Linked DNA regions of Homo sapiens: region 2 is linked to region 1. Evidence: promoter capture Hi-C in 16 types of primary human blood cells and fetal thymus (Javierre and others, 2016). All regions are on one chromosome and are shown on one strand. Each heading gives the region's core, a stretch centred on a gene start or on the middle of the fragment in contact. The rest is flanking DNA. Distances are from core to core; before and after follow the strand shown.

What was found. Contacts are between HindIII fragments. The CHiCAGO score rates a contact against its expected background, and 5 or more counts as called.
Region 2: the fragment with the promoter of WDR75 here is called in contact with the fragment with the promoter of NEMP2 in region 1 in 6 of 17 cell types (naive B cells, total B cells, fetal thymus and 3 more); the score reaches 9.0 in naive B cells.

Annotation. Positions count from the first base shown.
Region 1 is chr2:190,532,154-190,538,569 of GRCh38, reverse strand. NEMP2 (nuclear envelope integral membrane protein 2) reads left to right here and starts at 3,848. Exons shown (of 9, transcript NM_001142645.2): 1 at 3,848-4,011. The coding sequence starts at 3,915. It overlaps NEMP2-DT (NEMP2 divergent transcript), which reads right to left and starts at 3,732. Exons shown (of 5, transcript NR_183903.1): 1 at 3,449-3,732. RefSeq lists a silencer at 3,535-4,184. The HindIII fragment of the contact is 6,238 bases long and covers 2,282-6,416 here.
Region 2 is chr2:189,438,283-189,444,698 of GRCh38, reverse strand. WDR75 (WD repeat domain 75) reads right to left here and starts at 3,225. Exons shown (of 21, transcript NM_032168.3): 1 at 3,121-3,225. The coding sequence starts at 3,206. It also overlaps a transcript of COL5A2 not described here. RefSeq lists enhancers at 2,780-2,829, 2,850-3,079, 3,100-3,229, 3,490-3,709, 3,730-3,889 and 1 more. The HindIII fragment of the contact is 5,353 bases long and covers 964-6,316 here.

The DNA.
Region 1 (6,416 bases), core at 2,599-5,098:
AAATTAGCACAGCCTCTATGGGAACTATATGGAAGTTTCTCAAAACTAGACCTACCATATGATCCAGAAATTCCACTACTGGGTATATATCCAAAAGAAAGGAAATTAGTATATCAAAGAGATATTTGTATTCTCATGTTTACTGAAGCACTATTCACAATAGACAAAACATGGAATCAACCCAAGTGTCCATCAATGAGATGAATGGATTAAAAAATGTGGCATATATACACAATGGAATATTATTCAGCCATAAAAAAAATGAAATCCTATCATTTGCAGCAACATGGATGGAACTGGAGGTCACTATGCTAAGTGAAATAAGCCAAGCACAGAAAAACAAATATCACATGTTCTCATTTATATGTGGGAGCTAAAAAAAAACTGGATCTTATGAAGATAAAAAGTAGGTTGGTGGTTACCAGAGGTAAGGGGATGGTGGGAGGGGTTGAAGAGAGATTGCCTTTTTTTCCCTGTTTTAGTTTGGAATGCTAGAGTGGATTAGTCACTTTAGACCATCATGAGACAGGTTAGCTTTACCCTACTGTTGATGTGTTGTTGCCATGGTAATCCTGCTCAGTATAAAAGGAACCACAGTTTCAGACATTTGTTGTATGTGCTTGGCTGAGGAGCCAATGGGGTGAAGTTTCCTAGGTGCAGCCCATGATACTATTTTTCCCTCCTAGGCCTCTGAGCCTGTGATGGGAGGGGCTGCTGAGAAGGTCTCCGACATGCCCTGGAGACATTTTCCCCATAGTTTTGTTGATTAACATTCAGCTCCTTGTGACTTATGCAAACTTCTGCAGCTGGGTTGAATTTCTCTCCAGAAAATGGGTTTTCCTTTTCTATTGCATCGTCAGGCTGCAAATTTTCCAAACTTTCATGCTCTGCTTCCTCTTAAATGCTTTGCTGCTTAGAAATTTCTTCCACCAGATACCCTAAATCATCTCTCAAGTTCAAAGTTCCACAGATCCCATAATTTATAAAGGAAAGAGGTTTAATTGACTCACAGTTCTGCATGGCTGGGGAGGCCTCAGGAAACTTACAATCATGGTGGAAGGGGAAGCAAACATGTCCTTCTTCACAAGGCAGCAGGAGAGAAGTGCTGAGTGAAGGGGAAAAGCCCCTTATAAAACCGTCAGATTTCATGAGAACTCACTCACTAGCATAAGAATAACCCCCATGATTCAGTTACCTCCCACTGGGTCCCTCCCACGATGTGTGGGGATTATGGGAACTACAATTCAAATGAGATTTGGGTGGCGAGACAGCCAAACCATATCGACCTATATTCAAATTCACCGGTTCTTTCCTCAGCTATGTCCAGTCTGCTGATAAGCCCATTGAAAGAATTCTTCATTTCTGATACGGTGTTTTTAATTTCTAGCCTTTCCATTTCACTTTTTAAGTAATTTTCCTCTTTCTGCTGAAATTCTCTATATATATTCATGCATATTGTTCACCTTTTCCACTAGCTTTATAAGCATATTAATTCTAGCCCAATATATGGGTCATTTCTGAATCTGGTTCTGTTTTACCTCTTGATTTTTTCTCCTCTCTGCTTTTTTGGGTGTCTTTTAATTTTTGATCAAATGATGGATATCACATGTAGGAGAATAGTAACAACTGAGGTAAATAATATTAATGTCCAGAAATAAACATGCCTCTTCTGTCCAGTCAATAATGTGGGTAGTTGAGTCAATCTAGTCAGGAGTTGTGCTGAATTTGGGTTTTGTTGTTGTTATCCTTGCCTTCACTCTGTACCACAGGCTTCATTCAGATTCCTCTAGCAGGGGGTTACTATTGCATTGTTTTAGTGTGGAACCTAGAGTGCTGGGGAGTTTTTCTCAGTGTCCCTCACTCAGCTTTTAGCAGTGTTTGCATGCCTGTGTTACAGAGAGGTCTCTCCCCACTCTTTTTCCTCCTCACTAGTTGACTGGTGTTGTCACTGGTGCTTGGCTTGTAGTGGGGAAAAGGGGTTTTTCACACTCCTGGTCCTGCCTTGGTTTTAGGCAGGCCCTGTGCACCTGAACCTTAGATGTGGGGCTTTCCCAGTATTCCTGACACTTTCCCATTGCAGCCAAATCCTTCCTTTATCTGTGGTGAGTCTTGAGTGAGAGAGGGTTTCCCAGCAGTAGCCAACTTCAATTTTCTATTGGTTCAGGACACAGAGCCCTAGTGTTTCCTGCTCCTGCTGCTCCCCAAAGGGCAGAAGGTTTGTGCTTCTATCTCTTCTCCAGAAGCAGGGGGTCTTTGCCAGGATCCTGTTGGTGGTAAAGCTTCCTGCCCTTCCCCCAGTGGATAAGGTTTTCATACAGAAGAAAAGTTTGGAGAGGTTAAGTGGAATTTCATGATTGTCCCCCAGTGACAGAACTATCACCTCCTAACATTCTTGTTATCTCCGGAAAAATATTTATTGCTTATAGAGAAAAATGTGGTGTTTCAATATAGCTTCTTTACAGATATTTACTAAGGATCTGTGATATAAATAGCACTTTAAATATTTAGTACATTGCTGCCTGCCCTTTTGTTTCTCCACCAGATATATCTGTAGAAAATACATTCATCATTCAACAACCCACCTGTTTATTTTAGCTACTTTCCATAGTGCCATCCAAAATTAAACCAAATCAAAATGAATGTGGTTAGGTACAAAAGCTGTCTTGCAAGAAGCAAGTGCACACCGCACCTGGGAATACAGGAAAGAATTGGATCAGGGCTCTGCTGTTTCTCTGAAGACAGGCTTCACTCAAGTAATGATGGTTTATTTTTAAAAACCATCCCTCTGAAGAGTCCCTTACAAGGAAATTTCTTAACTTTTTAAAAGCCATACATGGTGTACACATGGTGCCAAGTGCTTAAGGGCAGTTGGTTAAACCTTTCTTTGAGGGCAAGGAAAGCCTAGTCCATCCTACTCAGACTTTTAGGAAAAATGAGGCTTATCTATTTTTAACAGGATAATTTCTGTTACTTTGGGTTCTCTAAGATATCTCACCAAAAGACCAGAATTAGAGAAGACTGTCCTAGTTAAGTATGGAATATTGAGTCAAATTAATGGGTTCCAGGTCCTGTGGAGGGAATGTTCTTTAAAATATATGTATATCTCCTAATTATCAGTATTAAGATCATTCAGGTTATATGTTAATTTAAAAATATATCTATTACATTAAGAAACTTTTTTTTAACATAAGGTAATTTTAAGAGAACCTTGTCATGTTGGTGAAGGAACATTTTACGAGCCCCTCTGTACTCTGAAATGCCGTGTCCGAGATTAGACATACAAGTCAGTGTTACTTAAGCGGCCAAATTTCCAATTTGTTATTGCTTGTTACCAAATGAAAGTAAAAAGATAAACAGAAAGGTAAAATAAAGAAACTGGCTTTTATGTATTTTATTCACAAAAAGGGCGTTTGCCGAAGGACCTTCCCATTCACGGGCTGTCACTCACAGGTGCTCGGAGAATTCAGCCTCCAAATCCGCAGGTCACAGGTCAGCCAAGTTTTAAGAAACACTCCGGGTTAGCGACTCTTCCTCTCTGCAACTCCCACCCCTGCGCCGAGGGCAGCGGGACACGGCCGGGCGGTCCCCAGGGGAAGATGAGGCCCTGGACGCCCCGCGTGCGCTGGAGGCCCGGAGGCCAAGGCCGAGGCCGAGGCCGAGGCCGGGAGCATGCCAGCGGGGTCGCGCCACCGAAAGCTCCTCCGGCCTGGGCCCGCCGTGCCCCGAGGCCGCGGGCGGAGGCTGGAGCAACGAGCCCAACTCTCCCTCCGCCCCGGGGAGGCGGGGTCTCCGCCTTTCCCGCGTTCGGGCCTCACCGCCCCCTCCGCCTTCTCTGAGCCCCCGCGCCACTTCCGCTCCTCGCAGCGGAGCCGGTCCCCTAGGGCTCGGGTCGCACGGAGCTGACCCCTAACGAAATGGGGCCGCGCCAAGGGCGGTGGTGGCTGCTGCTCTGGCTGCCGCCCCTGGCCACACTGCCCGTGCGCGGGGAGGCGGCGGCGGCAGCGTTATCAGGTAACCCGGGACCGGCGGCGGCGGCGCGCGCGTGCGTGCTCGCTCCCCGGCTTCGCGGCTGCCCTGAGGGCGCGCTCTTTGGCCCGGGCGGCACCGCGAGGCCCACTGGGGCGGGCGCTCCCTTTTCTCGCTTTGGGGTCTCCCGGGCAGGCCCCGCCCGCCCTTCCTGTCTTACTGGGCTTCCGTAGTCTCTCGCCTGGCAGTTGGACATTTTGTAATTTTAGAATTAGAAGCAACCGCGCGATCCAGTCGCCCAATTCCCTCGTTTTACAGAAGCAACCGAAACTCAGAGAGGTTTTGATTTGCCCAGGGTCACACAGCTTGTCACTGGCACAGCTGACCCTAGTCTCCAGACTTTCAGCACACGGCCTTTTGTACAGTACATCAATGCGTGTTGAAATCCTTGTTATTTCACTATCTCGCATTCCTTTGGTCTCAAGACTAGAGAAGGTAACAGCTTCAGCTTCAGAATCGGAGCGAAAATTCTTCTGCCCCTGACTGTTGTGACCTTGAGCGAGTAAACATAACGGTCCCACGTGAGCGGCAGGTAATGAGGCCTCACAAGGTTCTTGTGGTGTTCGTGTGCACAATGCCTGGCACACAGGAAGCAAGAACTGGTAGCGGCTGCTAGCTGTAGGGGCTCGCCACGGAGTGGGCTTAAGATGCTGGCACACTGGGGAAGGATCTGGGAAGGACACCTGGGGAAGTCAGAAACCTAGAGTTCCAACTCCAGACCTGCCGCTAACTTACCATGAGCTTCACATTTCTGTTTCTTTTTTTTTTTCCCCTCATAAAATCTTTTAAAAGATTTCCTGGGTGCACTGTCTACCAACTTCCCTTCCTTGCTTTGGCTACCCTGGTTTCAAGGGAGGCTGCCAAGTGTATTCTTTTAGCTGGGCATGGCCCTCCCTCCGGTTATACCGCGGTTTTTTATCTAAGGATGAATGAGAGACTGGATGTTGATGAGGTCATTATCAGATTCTGCCACAGCTCCCAACTGAGGGAATCTTGCAGTGAGTTATATGTTGGGGAAGTGTTGGATTCCAGTTTTCATTGAAGAGAAATTTTTTGAGTGTTCAGTATGTGCTAGGCAGTGTTATAAGTGCTTTAACTGCAGTATCTATCATATTTAATACCCATAGAAGCCCTATGCGGGAAAGCACCATTTTATACCCATTTTACAGATGAGAAAACGAAGGTTTGGTAGTAAGAAATACAACAATTTTATGCTGGTGAAAAAATAAAACACAAATCTGTCTAAGCAGGAAGGTTTCTGGGCATGGCAACAGCGAGAAAATTAGAAGTAGCCTTAGACCAGCACCCAGCACCTTGGGTTCTAGACCACTCATTCCTTCAGCCACAACTTGTGGTATAACCTTGGTCCAGGCACAGAGTCTTTATGGACCGTAGTTTTCTCTTGAGTAAAATGAAGATGTTTTTACTGAAGAGTTTCCAGTATTTTCCTCACCTCAGTGAACCTGGTGTTTTTAAAGTTTTTATGTTACCGCATTTAGTATAATAGTAACAGCCTGCTTCTCTGCTTTGTTAATCAAAGACACACATAAATACTTATTGGAGCTTCTGTTCTGCCTGAGACATGCAGGATGCCCACTGACTTGATAAAACTAGTCCACAGCTAAGAAGAATGGCAACTTTTGTAGCCTTAGAGGGATGCCTGCCATTCCGGTAGGCTTTCCAATACGGACTGTGAAGCGCCCAGCATCTGGTAGTGTGCCAGTGACACTGTTGGCAGCCCTGGATTAGACTAGGCTTAAGAACCATAGCTGCTCTTTAAAAGTCTATGGTTTCTTGAGGACCCTGAGAGGAAACAGCTGGTACTTCCTTTAAGCGAGGGGCTTGGATTAGTGATACCTAAGGTGCCTTCCTGTTCTAAAATTTTGTCTTGAATAACACACACTTCAATGGAATGGAGAACATTCAGACCAACCCCAGCTTTCTGTCACTCTATTTGGAGGAAAGTCAGAGACAGTTGACACAGGAGGAGCAGGTAGTTGTCTGACTGAGAGGAGAAACTTCAAGAGTTTCCCATAATTTTCACCCAGTTAGTGAGGTCCCTAGAAACCATGTGTTGTCCTGAGATGAAGTTCAGGCCCTGTCAGTGGCTTTCCAGGCTTAAACTATAACAGTCCATTTGACACCACAGCTTTAAGATTCATCTGTGAAGATTTGAACTTGAAGTTAAAGACCTGAGTGTGCATGAGTATATACTAATTCCAGTTTCATTCTCATATTCTTGGAGAAAGAAAAAGATGAATATTCAGGTTAAAAAAAACTGAGGTTAAGAGAATAGTTACCTTTATCACTTTGGTGCCTCACGTTAACACCTTTGAAAATGTGTATTTACAAAAAACAAATAGTAAGAAAAATCCTGAGTCCATTTGACT
Region 2 (6,416 bases), core at 1,976-4,475, 1.1 Mb after region 1:
GTTCAGAGCAAGACTAGAAATAAGAGTTAGAGTAATAATGTTATAACAGTAACAACTTAGGAAAATTGTTACAGCAGCAATACTCAGAATGATCTGTAAGGGAAAAATACTGAGTTTGGGACATTAGCTTGTGGGCAATTTAGGAAAGTGAAAGGCAAGGATGACTCATTGTTTCAGTTTTCTCTACCCTAACAACCCCAGTGCAATAATTCACAGCACCATATAACTGTGGGATGCCGCAGAATGGGATGCAAACAGAACTGGACTGAGAGTCAGTAATATCTAATATGGGAACACCAGGAACTTACATGTATACCCACATGCCCCTCAGAACAACCTACTCAAGTACCTAGAACAGAGTTTTTGTTCTAGTTTCAAGAGGAAGCCGCCAAAATTCCACAAGTCTGTCTTTTTATGATTTTGGCTTTCTTGATAAGCACCTTGAGGTAAAATACAAAATTATTCCTCTTTGTATAAGGCAGCCAATCCCTTGTGGTACCTTGTAGATAATATTCAAATCTTTGCTGAGTTCATTAAAATCCTGTCATTTGTTAGATAAATGGTTTTAATTATTAGCTTATATATAGATGACAAAAAAAAAATCTCTAAATCTTGACCAAGTTCTCCAAACTTCAGTCCTGAATTTCTACCTACTACTAGCTATATCCACCTGGTTGTTTTACAGGTACCTTAGAGTTAATAACCCCGAACTGAACTCTATCTCCCCATTGACACTGACTGTGAAATCACTCTAAAACCCTGTCTCTTTTCTCCATGTTCAATATTACCTTAGTTTGGGCAAAAGTGATTTCTTGCTTGGATGCCTGCACTGGTCTTCTAACCCCTGGTCTCTATTCTTCCAGAGTCTTTTCCTGCCATCTCTTATACCCTATGCTGCAATTACACTGACTTTACATAGAAGGCTCAATCCCCCCAGTTTTCAAGGCCCCCAGATTTCAAGCTTGTTTGCCTGGCATTCCATCCCCCAGTATTACTGGTGAGGCAAACTCTTGCCATTGCTGCAAGAACCACTACTGAAGGTAAAACTGACTATGTAACTCCCTCTTCTATGCCATCACTGTACTTTATGTACATCAGCCTACCCAGCTCTCATTTCTCCACTCACCAACATGTATCATAGAGTTTTACAGTTTTCAGGTTAACATTATTGAAGAAACACAATCAAATTACAACTGATTACCGCCGTCCCCTTAAAGAATTAAAAAACCATTCTCTTTGGTCCAAACAACAACCAACAACTGGCTGCACGTGTCCTTTCCAACCTCATTTCCCACTACCTCCCTTAATATATACCATTCTTACTAGCTAACTGTACCAGCCTGTTCAACAGAAATCACTTCTGTCTTTCTTGCTTACACTGTCCTCCCCACCTGAAATGTCTTCTGTCCATATTCCCCACTTAAAATATCATCTAGGCCTAGCACAAATGTCATTTGCTCAGCAATCTTCTCCGTCCTTCTTAGTTTGGGAAGTAATCTCTTCTTATGAGCTCCTTCCTACAGGACCACAGTAAGAAAAATCTGTTACTGAGTATTCCTTTTCCTCACTAGACTGTAAGCTCCTCGAAGGCAGGATCAATATTAAAATTATCTTAGTTTTTGTCACTGCAGCATGTTATACATAATATATAGTTGACAAGTACTTAAAAAATGAATTGTTGGGCTTAGCAAATCAAACACACAATGGACCTCATTATAATGAATAAGGTATAAGAACAGTACTGGTTACATGGATATGAGTCCGAAGCGTCACAGTGTGACAGCCTCTTAAAGCCTGTTTCTTCCTTTGATTCATAAGATCAATGTCAACAAAGCCACAGGACTCATTTTTTTTTGGCTTCTAAGGCAATTTATAAAAGCTCTTTCAGTCATGCTTGCATTACCTTCAACAACTACCTGTCGTACACTCATATGCAGAATATTGTGGGGGTGGGCCGGGCACAGTTGCTCACTGTAATCGCTGCACTTTGGGAGGTTCAGGTGGGCAGATCACTTGAGGCCAGGAGTTCCAGGGCAGCCTGGCCAACATGGCGAAACCCTCTCTCTACTAAAAATACAAAAATTAGCGGGCGTGGTGGCCCGCGCTTATAATACTTGCTACTCAGGAGGCCGAGGCACCAGAATTGCTTGAACCAGGGAGGCGGAGGTTGCAATGAGCCTAGATTGAGCCACTGCACTCCAGCCTGGGTGACAGAGTGAGATTCTGCATCAAAAAAAAAAAAAAAAAAAAAAAAAAGAATATTGTGGAGGCTACAAACTTTCATAAAATACTATCTCTACTCTTCTAAGGCAGAAAGGGTTTTTTGATTTTATTAAGTGCCACCCTACCTAAAGTTATTTGAAAACCTGACAATACAGTAATAATGATTACAGCTACATACATTGAGCCATTATGTGCCGGGCATTGTTGTCTGTAGTTTTAACATATTGAGGCATTTAATCCTCCCAATAACCACGTGAGATGAACTAAATATTGTCCCCCTTTACAGATGATGGCAACTGAGGCAAAGATTAAGAAACTTACAAAGGTTTCATAATGTAAGAAGTGGATTTTGAAGCCAGGGAGTGGTTTGGTTTCCAGCTACACTGAGAAAAGAGACCAAGTCTTAGCGTATTTTTATCTCATAAAGAATCTAACATCTGTTTTCATGTAAAGTTCCGAAAAGACTGCACTATGCTTCATGCACTATGCTTCAGGAGTGAGGAGTGGGTAGAAAAAGCGGAATAGTTTTAGGTTTTAGTCACTCCAAAACATGATTCTGTACGAAAGAGTAGGTACTGCAAAGGTAGTGGCATACACATCCACCCCTGGACCATTTTCCAGCCGCCCGAACACCTTCCAGATCCTCGACACGGAGACCGGCTCCAGGGCCTTTATCTACCTGCAGGTAAACTGTCCAGGAATCGGGGGACGCAACCCAATCTGCAGTGGTAACGGGACCTCCCAGGTACCCTGGGGATCCCCCACAGGCGCGTGCTCTACCCAAAGCCGATATCCGCCAGGCGGGCGAGTCCGAACGCGACTGACAATTCCTTCTCCCCGACCCTCGAGAAACTCACGCCCCGCCCCTCAGCCGACAAAGCGCGGTGCCCCTCATACTTAGAATCTGCAGAGAACACAGCTCTCCTAAAGTTCAACTCGCTGCCGCCACAACGAACCACGCGGATGTTCTCCTCCTCCACCATCTTTGCGCAGTAGCGGAATGGCCAATCTCTGGTCCCGCCCTGAACTTCCTTCGTTGAGCCGGGTAATAAGGCTGTTCCCAGCCCACAGAACCCACCCCCGGGCCCTTCTAGGCCTGAGACTCGGTGGTAGGACTCCGCTTCCGTGCAGGCACCTTTTGTGTGGGCAATGTCAAACTAAGACACTTGTAAGAAAAGGTGAAAGCAAAACAGAGATTTAGAGACAATCAGTTTTTATTATATACCTATACACAATTATTTAATACAGACATATTTCTCTCAGGCCTTGTCAACCTGACTCTATGGCTTTTTCCGCCAGAAGGGAAAGGTGGCGTATAGTGTACCACGTGACCTCCAGTCGTCCCACCGGAGGCGTCGCTTTCTAGTGTCTGTGGTGTCGGCGCTGCAGGATGACGCGAGCCTCTCGCGTCCCTGGTTTTCTCGGTCGCAGCGTTGAGTTATTGGGTGGAAAGGTAGCTTTCTCTTCCTTGTACAGCTTTTTGTTCCTCTCATTAGCCGTTCTTCTGTTCTTGTGAACATCGCTTAGGTTACTACAGAATCTCCACAGTCCTAGGGCCTAGCTTTCTTCCTTTGGAAATCTGGCTCCTACTCCGGGATTCTGGTGCATCTTCCGCAGCGTTCAGTGTAGCTGCTCGGGCTAATCTGACATTCGGCCAGTCCCGCCAGGTTTCAGGGCGCTGGTCTCTGGTTTCCTGAGTTTTACCTTTTCCCATTAGTGAATAGAATCTGTGGGTTAGGAACCCCTAAAATCTCAACATGTTTATTTTTGCCAGTTTATCTCCAGTTTTCCTTTGTAAACTTACACGTATCATATTCTTGGACCCTGTATATTATGTTGCCTATTTTGATTTCGCTTCTTGATTTGTGGATTTACCACAAAATTACCAAGGTCTCAAATATAGTCACATGTCACATAAGGATCTTTCAATCAATGCATATAACATGGTGATTCCGTAAGATTATAATACTGTGTTTTTACTGTACCTTTTATGTGTTTAAATACACAAATACTATTCTGTTACAATTGCCTGCAATATTGAGTACAGTAACATGTTGTTCAGATTTGTAGCCTAGGAGCAATCAGCTATAACGTACAGCCTAGGTGTGTAGTAGGCTGTACCATCTAGGTTTGTGTAGGTACACTCTGTGATATTCACACAATGATGAAATCACCTAAAATGCATTTCTTAGAACATATCCCCATCATTAAGCCACACATGATTATACCTATAAGTTTATTTATGGTGGAGAAATACAATATTCACAAAGGTCAAGACATATCCTGGGACAGCACCACTGTAAAAATCAGGGATAAATTTACTTTTTACTGAGGAGTCTAGCTTATTAAAGTGCTCAAAACTTTATTATTTGGGGAGCCAGAACTAGAAAGGGAGATATTTAATAATTTTGGTTTATCTCAAGCTGTAACCAGCTTTCTCTTTCATGACTGTGATACCCTTTGTCACAGTGGATGGAGTGTAAAATATCACTTTTGATTCTGCAGCCTTAACCTCTTTTTGTTTAGTCTCTTGATGTATGCACAATAAATCTTTTAAAGACTTTGTTGGGTACTTTGTAACCTGATACAGGCTTTTCCTTAGGGCCTGAGCCAAGAAACAAAATAAATATTTTCACTCAAATTAGTGTGACTTTAGTTGTATGTTACTGTATGGTAACTTTAGATTTTTCAGAAAAGAATCAGAAATCCTGATATGGACAAAAACTAGCTGGATTGATAAATGTATAGGAGGATTATTTTACACAGAGTTTTAATTTACTGAAGTGCCCAGAAAGATAAGTCATTTGTATTTTGATTTCTTTTTACATAATTTTTAAGGAACCAATCCCACCTACAGCTGTTTAATTAATAGTGCGTTGTCTTTATCATGTAACAAGAAGGCTGAGGTAGGCAGAATAGGGCTAGTGCAGTGGATCATTCATGCCACCAGGGACCTGTGCTTTCTCTACTTTGTTCTTTGTGTTATTGTCCTTAACCATATTGGTTTTGTCCTTATGCTCACAGTTCATGTTCCTTTCAGTTAGAAGAAATAAGGGAATAGCAAGAAAGAGCATAGCCTATATACAGAAGGAAAAGGATTTTCCAGAAACACTTATTTGGCATCTTCCATCCAGGAAATATTTACTAAGTGCCTAGTATATGCCAGACATTCTTTCAGGCTCTGGGAATACTGGAGTGAGAAAAATAGTTAACAAAATCTGTATGTTACTGGACCTTACCTTATCATGGGAAGAAACAAAAACTTATTATACTTTTGATGTATTTATGTGCCAAGGGGAAACTCAAAGTAGAAAAGAAAGTGATTATAAGGGTTTGATCACCTTTATTATGGGTTTTCAGGGAAAGCCTTACTGAGAAGGTAACATTTGAAATAACCTGAAAAGGTTGAGAGTGTGAATAAGCATGGAGCTGTTTGGTGAAAGAGTCAGCCAGAGGAAAGAGTATTCCTTTCCATGTTCAAGATAAGTCAAGAGGCCAGTGTGGCTGGAGAATAATCATCAAGGGGGTATAGTAAAAGGTGAGGTCAGAGAGGTAATAAGAGGCCAGTTCATAGGGTCTCCTAGATCATTGTAACAGCTTTGGGTTTTACTCTGAAATTGAAGACAGTGTAGCCTTTGTGTTAAAAAGTGAAACGATTAGGCTAATTTTAAAAATTTACATACAATAAAATCTGCTTTCTTTGATATCTATGATGCACAAATTATCGTATCCACCATCACAAATAGGATACAGAAGAATTCCAGCACCTCAAAGAATTCCCCAGTATTTCTCCTTCCCCTCCCCAAGACCTATCCCCTGGCAACCACTAATGTTCTCCATCCCTAGTTTTGCCTTTTCCAGAAAGCCATGTATAAATGGTATCATATAGTATGTAACCTTTTCAGTCTAGCTTCTTTCAGTTAGCATATTGCATTTATGTTATGTGCATCAGTGCTTTATATTGCTGAGTGGTATTCCATTGTATGGCTATTTCACAGTTTATTTGTTGAATGTGTTTTACCCCCAGGTTTTAGAAATTATGCATAATACTTCTCTAAACATTCATATGTAGGTTTATGTGTGAACATAAGCTTTTATTTTTCTAGGATAAATACCAGCAAATGAGATTGCTCAAATCATAAGTGTATGTTTATTTAAGAAATTGCCAAACTCTTTTTTTCCCAGAGTTACTG